Regions from separate parts of the Homo sapiens genome. Here all the other regions are linked to region 3. Evidence: promoter capture Hi-C in 16 types of primary human blood cells and fetal thymus (Javierre and others, 2016). All regions are on one chromosome and are shown on one strand. Each heading gives the region's core, a stretch centred on a gene start or on the middle of the fragment in contact. The rest is flanking DNA. Distances are from core to core; before and after follow the strand shown. Region 1 holds the start of C1QL2 (complement C1q like 2). Region 2 has its middle 170 kb from the start of THORLNC. Region 3 holds the start of EN1 (engrailed homeobox 1).

The links. Contacts are between HindIII fragments. The CHiCAGO score rates a contact against its expected background, and 5 or more counts as called.
Region 1: the fragment with the promoter of C1QL2 here is called in contact with the fragment with the promoter of EN1 in region 3 in 1 of 17 cell types (monocytes); the score reaches 8.0 in monocytes.
Region 2: a contact is called between a fragment that was not itself captured here and the fragment with the promoter of EN1 in region 3, in 1 of 17 cell types (endothelial precursors). The highest score is 5.1, in endothelial precursors.

The regions. Positions count from the first base shown.
Region 1 is chr2:119,157,222-119,160,647 of GRCh38, reverse strand. It overlaps C1QL2 (complement C1q like 2), which reads left to right and starts at 1,897. Exons shown (of 2, transcript NM_182528.4): 1 at 1,897-3,062. The coding sequence starts at 2,379. RefSeq lists an enhancer at 2,719-3,426. The HindIII fragment of the contact is 3,837 bases long and covers 1-3,426 here.
Region 2 is chr2:118,353,900-118,357,885 of GRCh38, reverse strand. No RefSeq gene overlaps it. Among named protein-coding and RNA genes, the nearest start is that of THORLNC, 170 kb to the right of the region's middle. The HindIII fragment of the contact is 650 bases long and covers 1,552-2,201 here.
Region 3 is chr2:118,846,228-118,849,716 of GRCh38, reverse strand. EN1 (engrailed homeobox 1) reads left to right here and starts at 2,069. Exons shown (of 2, transcript NM_001426.4): 1 at 2,069-3,411. The coding sequence starts at 2,550. The HindIII fragment of the contact is 11,695 bases long and covers 1-3,489 here.

The DNA.
Region 1 (3,426 bases), core at 648-3,147, 310 kb before region 3:
CAAACACCCTACACTTGCAAAACCTTTTTTTTTTCCTCATTGGTGCGGTGGGAAAATGATCACTAATCCACAGTAACATGAGGAATGAATGAAGGAGCACGTGCAAAGTGCCTGATGCATACGTAGTAGGTGCCAATAAATGTGCTCCTTCTCTCCTTGGTAAAGTTGGCTTCCGGCTAGGCTCAGTCATCCTTTCCACAAATATATGTGGAGAGAACAGGCTAGAGCAACGAGGTTGGGAGTGGGGAAATGACCCAGGGTGATCAGAGGACAAAAATAGATTTTAATTAACCCGTAAGAACCTAGTGCAGGACAAATGAGAGTTAGCTTCAAAGCAATAGCCTTAGGTGGGTGCACTGTTGTTCCAGAGATGCTGATGCTACACCAAACACTGACACCAGCCCTTAGATTCTCCCCCCAGGACAGGCCTGGTGTGATTCCCATGTTGGGGGTGCTAGGGCAGGAGGCGGCCTTTTAAGGAAACTGAGTCTCAGGGACAGGAACCACCTGGCAAAATCACACAGCTACTCAGGGCAAGAGCAGAAGCTGGGGCTTTGATTTCTCCGCTGGAAGTCTCTCCCACACCGGCGGGCCTCTCATCCTTCCTTAGCCTCACATGCTACATTGGAGATAGACTATTCTGCTCTCATCTGAGGCCATGGTTTATTCAAGACTGGCTCAGAATGGCTTTGGACTATTTGGACTATTTTCTAAAATAACTAAACCCATCTCAGGAGGAGGAAGCTGGGGATGTCCAAGGGAATGTGCCCATGCATCTGCCTGGCAGTGGCCGGGCTTGGAGTAGAAGCTGAGTGCACCATGATCACTGCCAAGTGCCGGCATCAAGCATTTGGTTTCTACACCAGCTTCACGCAGAGGACAAGGGCCAGCCATTTTCTGGTGGAAGAAAAGGTCTGAGGCGAATATTCCTTTTTTTTTTTTTTTTTTTTGAGATGGACTTTTGCTTTTGTTGCCCAGGCTGGAGTGCAATGGCACGATCCCGCCTCACCGCAACCTCTGCCTCTCTGGTTCAAGCGACTCTCCTGCCTCAGCCTTCCGCGTAGCTGGGATTACGGGCATGCACCACCATGCCCAGTTAATTTTGTGTTTTTAGTACAGACGGGGTTTCATCATGTTGGTCAGGCTGGTCTCAAACTCCCAACCTCAGGTGATCTGCCCGCTTCGGCCTCCCAAAGTGTTGGGATCACAGGCGTGAGCCACTGCGCCCGGCCGCAAATATTCTTGTATTGGGAGCCTTGGGCTTTTTAGAGTCACCTCAGAGGTTAGTGGGGTGCTCTACGGGAGCCTGTTTAAGAGTCTGGAGTCCTTAGTCTAGGTTTGCGAAAGATCTTCCAGAAGCGAGATCTATTCAATTCTGAAGAAATAACTCAGGAGGTCTTTCAGAAACTCCTTCCCGCTGGACCTCACGGGACTCTCCTGGACTCGGTGGGTTGAGGTTTGATCCTCTTTGCAGGCCAGGGGATGGATTAGGTGACCCCAGAGGAGCCCTGCTGACACCTGGATTCCAGCTGCTTTCGTGGCCATGTGGGGGTGGCTGTGCGTGCCCCGCCACTGCGTGCGTGGGTGTCTGTGTGTGTTATCGGTGGGGGGCGCGTGAGTGTGGCCGCGGGTGGGTGTGTCCGATGTGCCCCGGCTTGGGACCGCGCCCGCTGCGCCCACTTGTGGCTCCTGGGAGCCGCCAGGGGGAACCGCGCCTTCACCGCCTCTGCCGAGGACGCCGCCAGATAGGAGGCTGATGACATGAGGGCTCCGTCTCCCGAGTGATGGCAGCGCGCGCTGCTTCGCCGCCTCCGCCGCTCAGCCCCGGACTCCTTACGTCAGGGTAGCGGGGTCCCCCCTCCGCGCGGGAGCCAGCGAACAGCGAGAGAGCACAGCAGAGCGCGCCGCGGAGCCGGGGCGCCCTCACTGCGCTAGGAGCCCCACTAAACCCAGCGGAGCGGAGCCTGGCGGGAGGCAGCGCCGCGGAGCCAGCGCCGGACGCCGCAAGCAGACTCCCCGGCCAGCGCAAGCACTCCCTGGCCGGCGCCGGACCCTCGGGGCGCCGGATTCGTCTTGTGTGCCCCACGTCATGCGCGCGGGCGTCCGCGGCTCTCCCGACCAGCCCCAGCGCGGTGGGCCCAGGCTCAGAGGTCCCGGCGCCTCTCGCTGAAGTAGTTGGGTAGCCGGGGCTGGGGGTCGCCACGTCGGGGGCGCGGCCAGGACCCGCGGAGCCGGTCCCCGAGCGCGGGGAGCGGGGCCGCCCGCGCCGCCCCACCATTACCTCCCCGGGCGGCAAGGAGGAGCTGGTGGCGGTCGCCTCCCGGCTGTGGCAGCGGCGGCGGCGTGCCTGCCTGGCGGCCGTCGGCGTACTCTTGGCCATGGCGCTCGGGCTGCTCATCGCCGTGCCGCTGCTGCTGCAGGCGGCGCCCCGAGGCGCCGCGCACTATGAGATGATGGGCACCTGCCGCATGATCTGCGACCCTTACACTGCCGCGCCCGGCGGGGAGCCCCCGGGTGCAAAGGCGCAGCCACCCGGACCCAGCACCGCCGCCCTGGAAGTCATGCAGGACCTCAGCGCCAACCCTCCTCCTCCTTTCATCCAGGGACCCAAGGGCGACCCGGGGCGACCGGGCAAGCCAGGGCCGCGGGGGCCCCCTGGAGAGCCGGGCCCGCCTGGACCCAGGGGCCCTCCGGGAGAGAAGGGCGACTCGGGGCGGCCCGGGCTGCCAGGGCTGCAACTGACGGCGGGCACGGCCAGCGGCGTCGGGGTGGTGGGCGGCGGGGCCGGGGTAGGTGGCGATTCCGAGGGTGAAGTGACCAGTGCGCTGAGCGCCACCTTCAGCGGCCCCAAGATCGCCTTCTATGTGGGTCTCAAGAGCCCCCACGAAGGCTATGAGGTGCTGAAGTTCGATGACGTGGTCACCAACCTCGGCAATCACTATGACCCCACCACGGGCAAGTTCAGCTGCCAGGTACGCGGCATCTACTTCTTCACCTACCACATCCTCATGCGCGGCGGCGACGGCACCAGCATGTGGGCGGACCTCTGCAAGAACGGGCAGGTCAGTGACCCCTACACTCACCGGCCCCCGTAAACCCTCGCCCGCGCCCTGAACCTCCCAGGGAACCAGCCTCCTTTCTCTCCACCCGCGGGCTACCCTGCGAGCCCCGGGAATGAACGCGCCTCGGTGCCACAGTATCTCCGCTTCCCGATGCGCCGAGGCCGCGCTCACCGGGACGTAGAGCCAAATGTTGGGCCTTGAGAGCCCAGAGACCCCCATACCTAAACTACACTCCTTGGCCACTTGCGTCCCTGCCTGCCTCTCCGTGGGCTTCTCGGAAACCTCAGTTCTTTAGTTCTCTCCAGGTCGCCCCCTTGCCCTGCAGCCTCCTTTCCTCTTGGCCCTGGCCCCTGGCTCCCACCCT
Region 2 (3,986 bases), core at 627-3,126, 490 kb after region 3:
AACTTACCCAATTAAATATTGGCAAAGGACATGAATAGACAGTTTTCCAAAGAAGATATACAAATAACCATTAAGCACATAAAAAGATCTTCAACATCACTCATCATTAGGGAAATGCCAACCAAAAGCACAATGAGATACTACTTCATTAGGATGGCTATTATTAAAACAAAAACAGACACAGAAATCAAGTGTTGGTGAGAAAGTAGAGAAATTGAAACCCTTGTGCATTGGTGGTGGGGAAGTAAAATTTTGTGGCTGCTGTGGAAAATAGTATGGCAGTTTCTCAACAAATTAAACATGAAATTAACATACAATTCACCAATTCCACTTCTAGATAGATAACCAAAATAATTGTAAAGCAAGAACTCAAATAGATGTACACCAATGTTTATAAAAACATTATTCAACATCCAGAAGTGGAAATAACCAAAATGCCCAATAATAGACCAAAGAATAAACAAAACATAGTATGTACATACAATGGAATAATATCCAGCATTAAAAAAGAATAAATTCTGTTACATATAGCAAGATGAATGGACATTCACAACATCACACTAAGTGAAATAAGCCTGACACAAAAGGACAAATATAGTATGATTCCAGTTATATGAGGTACCTAGAACAGTCAAGTTCATAGAGACAGAAAGTAGAATCATGGTTATAAGGGGTTGGGGGAAAGGGGACATGGAGAGTTATCATTTGGTGGGTGCAGAGTTTCAATTTGGGGTAAGAAAGCTCTGGAGATGGATAGTGATGATGGTTGCACAACAGTGTGAACATACTTAATGCCACTGAATTGTACAGTTAAAAATTGCTAAATGGTAAATTTTATATGCATTTTACCACAATTATATATATGAAGGGTACATAGCAGTTTCTGCCTAATAATTTTGAAATCCACTGGGCATATGTCAGTTCCCCAACTCAAAGCAGGGCATATCCTTTGATTAGTACCAGTTCTGTTCCCTGTGATCAATTCCCTAATTACTCTGGGCTTAGCTGCATCCTTATAAGAAATGGCCCATATTTATAGCAGAATAGTTCTTTTAGCCTGCTTCTTTTTATTACAAATTTCACTGTCCCCTTTAGCCCGTGCTGGTGATATTTTTACTAATATGATCCTCTTAAAGACTCTGTGGATTTTCTATGAATCTGACTGAGTTTATCCCATGCCTCAAAGCCACTTCCAAATTCATTATGAGACTTATGTTTCTGCTGAGAGAATTTACCTTAAGATTCTTAAAAGCTTTTTTTGTTTAGCTGAATGGTCCACCAAGTACCACTTTAAATCTTTCTGAGGTCTAAACAATGAGTCTTTCAGCCACACTCTTATTTCATTTTAACCCTGAGGCTACTTTTACTGACAATACTGTATATTTGTTATTTTCCATGAGATTATTTATTCTTAGGATTTTTTTTTCTGCCATCTGGAAAAACTGACCTGAATTTTCTATATTTCTTCTAAATTCTGCTTAAAAACCAAACAGTTCAGTTTTCGTTCAATTTTCTCTTGCAACACTTCATTATATGCTTTTAAAAGAAGCTTGATAATATTTTTAGCAGTTTGCTTGGAAGTATTCTTAGCCAGATCCACAAGTTTACTAGGTAATTTTTCTTTTTCCAAGTTACCCCAGATGGCAGTCTTGCTAATTACTCTGACACTACATAACACTGTCTGCTCTTTTCTCCACTGTTCAATCCCTGCACTAAATGTTCACCATTTTTTCTAGCATTTATAAACTGCCTTCTTTTGCTGTTTTTCCACCATCTCCTTGCTGCCTTCATGGCCCCCTCCTGACATTCTGTCCCAAAGCCAGTACCACAGGTTTGAGATTTTTGTGATGACAACACATCCCTTTAGGACAAACCCCTGTTTTAATTATGTGTTGTTGCACAAAGTATATTTAAAACTTAGTTTCTTGAAACAATGATGTTTTAGTGTTGTTCATAATTCTGTGGGTTGGCTAGGCTCAGCTGGGTGGTTCTGTTCCTCCTGGTGTGAGCTGAGTTTACCCATACAGCTGCACTCAACTTGACTGGAACAACAAATTAGGCCTGTCTCTCATGTCTGGCATTTGATGCTGGCAATCACCTGGGTGCCATTCCTCTCCTCTGTGGCCTCTCTTTTCCAGTAGTCTAAATTAGCATTTTTGTAACATGGTGTCTGCATTCCAAAAGAGAAAAAGTAAGAAGCTTCCAGGTTTTTTTGTTTTTTTCCTTTGAGATGGAGTCTCGCTCTATGGCCCAGACTGGAGTGCAATGGTGTGATCTCGGCTCACTGCAACCTCCACCTCCCGGGTTCAAGCAATTCTCCTGCCTCAGCCTCCTGAGTAGCTGGGATTACAGGCATGCGCCACCATGCCCGGCTAATTTTTTTTTATTTTTAGTGGAGATGGGGTTTCACCATGTTGGTCAGGCTGGTCTCGAACTCCTGACCTCGTGATCCGCCCACCTCAGCCTCCCAAAGTGCTGGGATTACAGATGTGAGCCATCATGCCCAGCTTCTTCCAGGTCTTTAAGAACTAGGACTGAAATCAGCATTTCTTCTACATTCTATCTTTCAAAGCTAGTCACAAAACCAGTCAAGTTTCAGTGAAAGGATAAAACACAACCTAATAAAAATAATCATGTCTATTACATCAAATATAGGATATAAGTTTATTTATACACAATGATGACACAATTTTTATCTCTTATTGTTGTTTATTTTATAAGCTTATTGGAAGAGATCTTTTAGACATAACTAGCCATATTTTTTATCAACTATCACTATTTTACAAACAGAAAAAACTATAATAAATTATTCAAGGCATTTTCAAAATTCCTTCGTATTCACAGTCTGATTTCAGAGTCAACATTTATGTTTATCTCACAATATCATCCTCTATACCATCAGGTGCATTGATGAGGCAGTATTTTTTTTTTTTTAGACGGAGTTTCGCTCCTGTTGCCCAGGCTGGAGTGCAATGGCGTGATCTCGGCTCACTGCAACCTCTGCCTCCCAGGTTCAAGCGATTCTCCTGCTTCAGCCTCCCAAGTAGCTGGAATTACAGGCACCTGCCACCACACCCAGCTAATTTTTGTATTTTTAGTAGAGACCGGTTTCACTGCATTGGCCAGGCTGGTCTTGAACTCCTGACCTCAGGTGATCCACCTGCCTTGGCCTCCTAAAGTGCTGGGATTACAGACATGAGCCACCGCACCCGGCCTGAGGCAGCATTTCTTAAAAGAGAATTCCACTATTCTATCTGGAATTTTTCTTCATGCTGCTAACATGCATTCTTCAAGTTTTCATGCTGATCTTTTCTTGGTTGAATGAGAGGCAGCATGAACCAGTCACATCATTCCTTTGTTGCACTGAATTTCCTTTAGAGAGATGTGGCAATTCTTCTTGCCTTGGGTTGCACTACTTGGCCTATTTTAGACAATGTTTTTGCAAATATCTCAGAGACAGAATTTTCCACAGCTTCATTTGTTTGGGGATCCCTTCCTTTCAAAGGACCAAGTAGTTTGGTCTTTATTTTGCAAGAAAATGTGGAATTAAGGCAATTTCACAGTTATGAGTATTTGCTCTACAGATAACAATTTTCTCCCACCACTTTGTTTCTGTGCCTTCTGCCTTTACTGTAACTTTTTGCATCAATGTCAAGTCAGAGTGTAATCTTTTAAAATATATTTAAAATGACAATTAAACTCTACAAATATAATGCCAAGGGTGCACTTAACTGAAGTGATGATAATATGAGTAGTAATAACCAAGTTCATGCCTATGCAGTCAATGGCAACTATGCCTTGAATGTTGCCTGGCTCTCAGTGTTAAATACCATAGATTGTAATGTGCGTCTCAATTTCAGAGACGTTAAAATATATATGTAATATTCATGGAGTCTCTTCAGGGTATCCATTGGTGAGCTAGGGGCTGTCTGATGGATATATTTTAAAGATCTAAATGCAGTGCTTGTTCTCAGGGGATGTAACAA
Region 3 (3,489 bases), core at 820-3,319:
AACTTAAATATAAATAAAATCCCACCCCCATTTCGGGGAGAAGGGGTGGGGGCGCCTGGAGATTTCGGGGAGCCCTTGGGTGTGCTACTGAAGAGGACTCGGGAGACTCCAAGGTGGGGTTGGAGGCGGCTTGGGAAGGTAGAGAAGACTGCAGCGCAGCGTTAGGGAGAGAGGTTTTCTCCCCTAGGCTGCAGCGCAAGTCTAGCCGGGAACTCAGCCCCGGAAATCGGGGGACCCTCGCCTGCTCCCAAGATGCGGTGAGCAATATAAATTCCTGCTCTCCACCAGCCCTTTTGAGAAACTTCAGCTACTGTGGTGGTGGTTCGGCTTGTTGTGGGTTTAGTTGCATGTTCCTCCTAGCCTAACCCTCTGTGACTTTTCTGGAAAACTGGAGGTAGGGGGATTCTTTCGCATGTCACAAATAGACAATATTTCCAAAGGGATCCTTTCTCTACTGTCCCAGTTGCGGAGGGCGTTCAGGGCGAGGAGGTCCGCTGGAGCTCTAAGATGACACCCCCGAAGGCCTCGTTTGCTGACGCCTTTCTCGGCCACCGCAGGCTTCAGCATAGTCGGATACTGGTCCTCCAAAACGAATCCGGAGACAAGTCCCGCAGGTGCCTAGAGCTTCAGTCCACACGCCACCCCCGTCCCTCACATTCCCGGTTATGAGAAAATTTTGGGGGTGCCTCGACCAGGAAATAGCGAAAAAGAGATCGGCAGACGGGAGAATGATAGCAGCTGGAGGAACGGCATTTCCCTCAAACTAGGGAAGAACGCACAGAGCTGGAGCCGGAGGCACCCAGGGAGTTGGGAGCAATCCCAGGAAATTCAGTCACCCGGCAATTGAGGGAAACTCCCTGTTCACAACTTCAGCTAGCCAGGGCAAATACTTGGGGTGCAGCGCTTTCATTTATTTGATTTTACTTTGCAGGGAAATCTAACACAGAGGTTACCCTGAACTCTAAAAGCTAGGGCCTAGCGCGCATCCGCGTTCTGACTCGCCGGCCCCGGGGCCCTCCTGAGATTAATCTGCGTTGCCCGGACTCCCACTGCCAGGGAAGGTCCAGGCAACTGGCTCTGGGGCTATTCCTAGCCCTCTGGGCTTGGCTCTATGGCGCCAGGGCAGCTCCAGGGTGTTGTCGAAAGTCTGGACCGGGAAGGGCATGGGTGCGGATTCCCCACAAAGGGAAAGCAATGCAGCGGGCCGGCAGGAGACGTACAAACGTAAACGTGCGACGCTAGCTAGGCGCAGCGGGCCTTTCAGATTTTGCTATTTGTGAAAAACAAATTGCGCCTCTGAAAGTAACCAACTCTAGGTCTATTTCACATCACCGACCTCCCTGTCTCACTCCCCCTCCCTCCACTACACACACCCAAACCCACACCCACCCACAAACACACAAACCGGCAGTGACAACAACCACCCATCCTTCAATAACAGCAACCAGAGACAGAGGAGAAAATAAAAAGCTGAGTTTCTTAGGCGTGGGGGTGCAAAACAGCCAGGCTCCTGCCTACTGCCCCTGCTCCCGTAGCTCACAGACCCATAATCCTGCATTTCTCTAACAAGTTGTTTATGGAGTTGCTTCTCCATTTGCCTACATCCCAAAATTCACCCCTCCCGGGTTTCTTCTGCCCCCTCCTGAGTCCCGGCCTGAAGGAGGGGGAGGGACGCGGGTGCGGGCGCGGGTGGGGGAGGGCGGACCCGACGCACAGGGCCAGCGCCGAGGCGCCCCCTCTCCGCCAGCGGTTGACGCCCCCGGATTATTTATCCGCAAAGTCCCGCGCGCGCCCATTGGGCCGAGGCCCGAGTGTCAGCGCGAGTCCCGGCTCGCCATTGGCTCCGCACACGTGCGGCCCTGACTCACGTGCTTCCGGTTTGAAGGCAAAAAGTGTGCCTGGGTGATTTTTTTTTTAAGCGAGAGAGTTTGTGCAAAGATCCGAGCTGTCAGAGATTTGAAAAAAAAAAAAAAAAAAAAAAAAAAAAAAACAGCCCGGCGCTGGCGGAGACGCGCTCTCCCTGCAAAAAAAGCAAAGGCGATTAAAGGCGCTGCCAGCCTCACGCTCTGGGCACAGCTGAGCGTGACACTCGGGGAAGTCAAACCCCTCACTACTGCCTAGGAAGATGGCTAGACTTTAAATACTATTTTTTTCCCTTTAAGAAAAAAATTATTGGAGCTTTTTTTCTTGCTTTCTTTTTCCTTTTCTTTTTCTTTTTTTCCTTCATTTTTTTGGCCGTGGCTTACTCCCCATTTAAATCAAATCATTGAATCTGGTTGCAGAAAGAAAAAAGAAATAGCCAAGTGTCTCCATATCTGGATGTCTACAAATTAGAGAGGGAGAGACAGCGAGATCTATCTGCTAGATAAGAACGAGCGATCCAGGCCAGACGCCTGAGCTTTTTTCCTGCACCCGCCCCGTGCCTTCGCTGAGGCTTCGCCTGCCTCCTTCCTCCGCGCACCCCCACGGGCCGCTGGCAAAGTGGGGTGGGGAGCGAGGCGGTGGGGGCGGGGGCCGGCGCGGCGGCCGGGGCGGCGGGGCGGCCGAGCATGGAAGAACAGCAGCCGGAACCTAAAAGTCAGCGCGACTCGGCCCTCGGCGCGGCGGCGGCGGCGACTCCGGGCGGCCTCAGCCTGAGCCTCAGTCCGGGCGCCAGCGGCAGCAGCGGCAGCGGCAGCGATGGAGACAGCGTGCCGGTGTCCCCGCAGCCTGCGCCCCCCTCGCCGCCCGCGGCGCCTTGCCTGCCGCCCCTGGCCCACCACCCGCACCTCCCCCCACACCCCCCGCCCCCGCCGCCTCAGCATCTCGCGGCGCCTGCTCACCAGCCGCAGCCAGCGGCCCAGCTGCACCGCACCACCAACTTTTTCATCGACAACATCCTGAGGCCGGACTTCGGCTGCAAAAAGGAGCAGCCGCCACCGCAGCTTCTGGTGGCTGCGGCGGCCAGAGGAGGCGCAGGAGGAGGAGGCCGGGTCGAGCGTGACAGAGGCCAGACTGCCGCAGGTAGAGACCCTGTCCACCCGTTGGGCACCCGGGCGCCAGGCGCTGCCTCGCTCCTGTGCGCCCCGGACGCGAACTGTGGCCCACCCGACGGCTCCCAGCCAGCCGCCGCCGGCGCGGGCGCGTCTAAAGCTGGGAACCCGGCTGCGGCGGCGGCGGCGGCCGCGGCGGCAGTGGCGGCGGCGGCGGCGGCCGCAGCAGCCAAGCCCTCGGACACCGGTGGCGGCGGCAGTGGAGGCGGCGCGGGGAGCCCCGGAGCGCAGGGCACCAAATACCCGGAGCACGGCAACCCGGCTATCCTACTTATGGGCTCAGCCAACGGCGGGCCCGTGGTCAAAACTGACTCGCAGCAGCCTCTCGTATGGCCCGCCTGGGTGTACTGCACACGTTATTCGGATCGTCCATCCTCCGGTGAGTACCCAACTCCGGGCTGCGCCATGCCTTCTGGCCCCGCGGACCGCCCCAGAACGCCAAGCTGCGGCGCTAGGG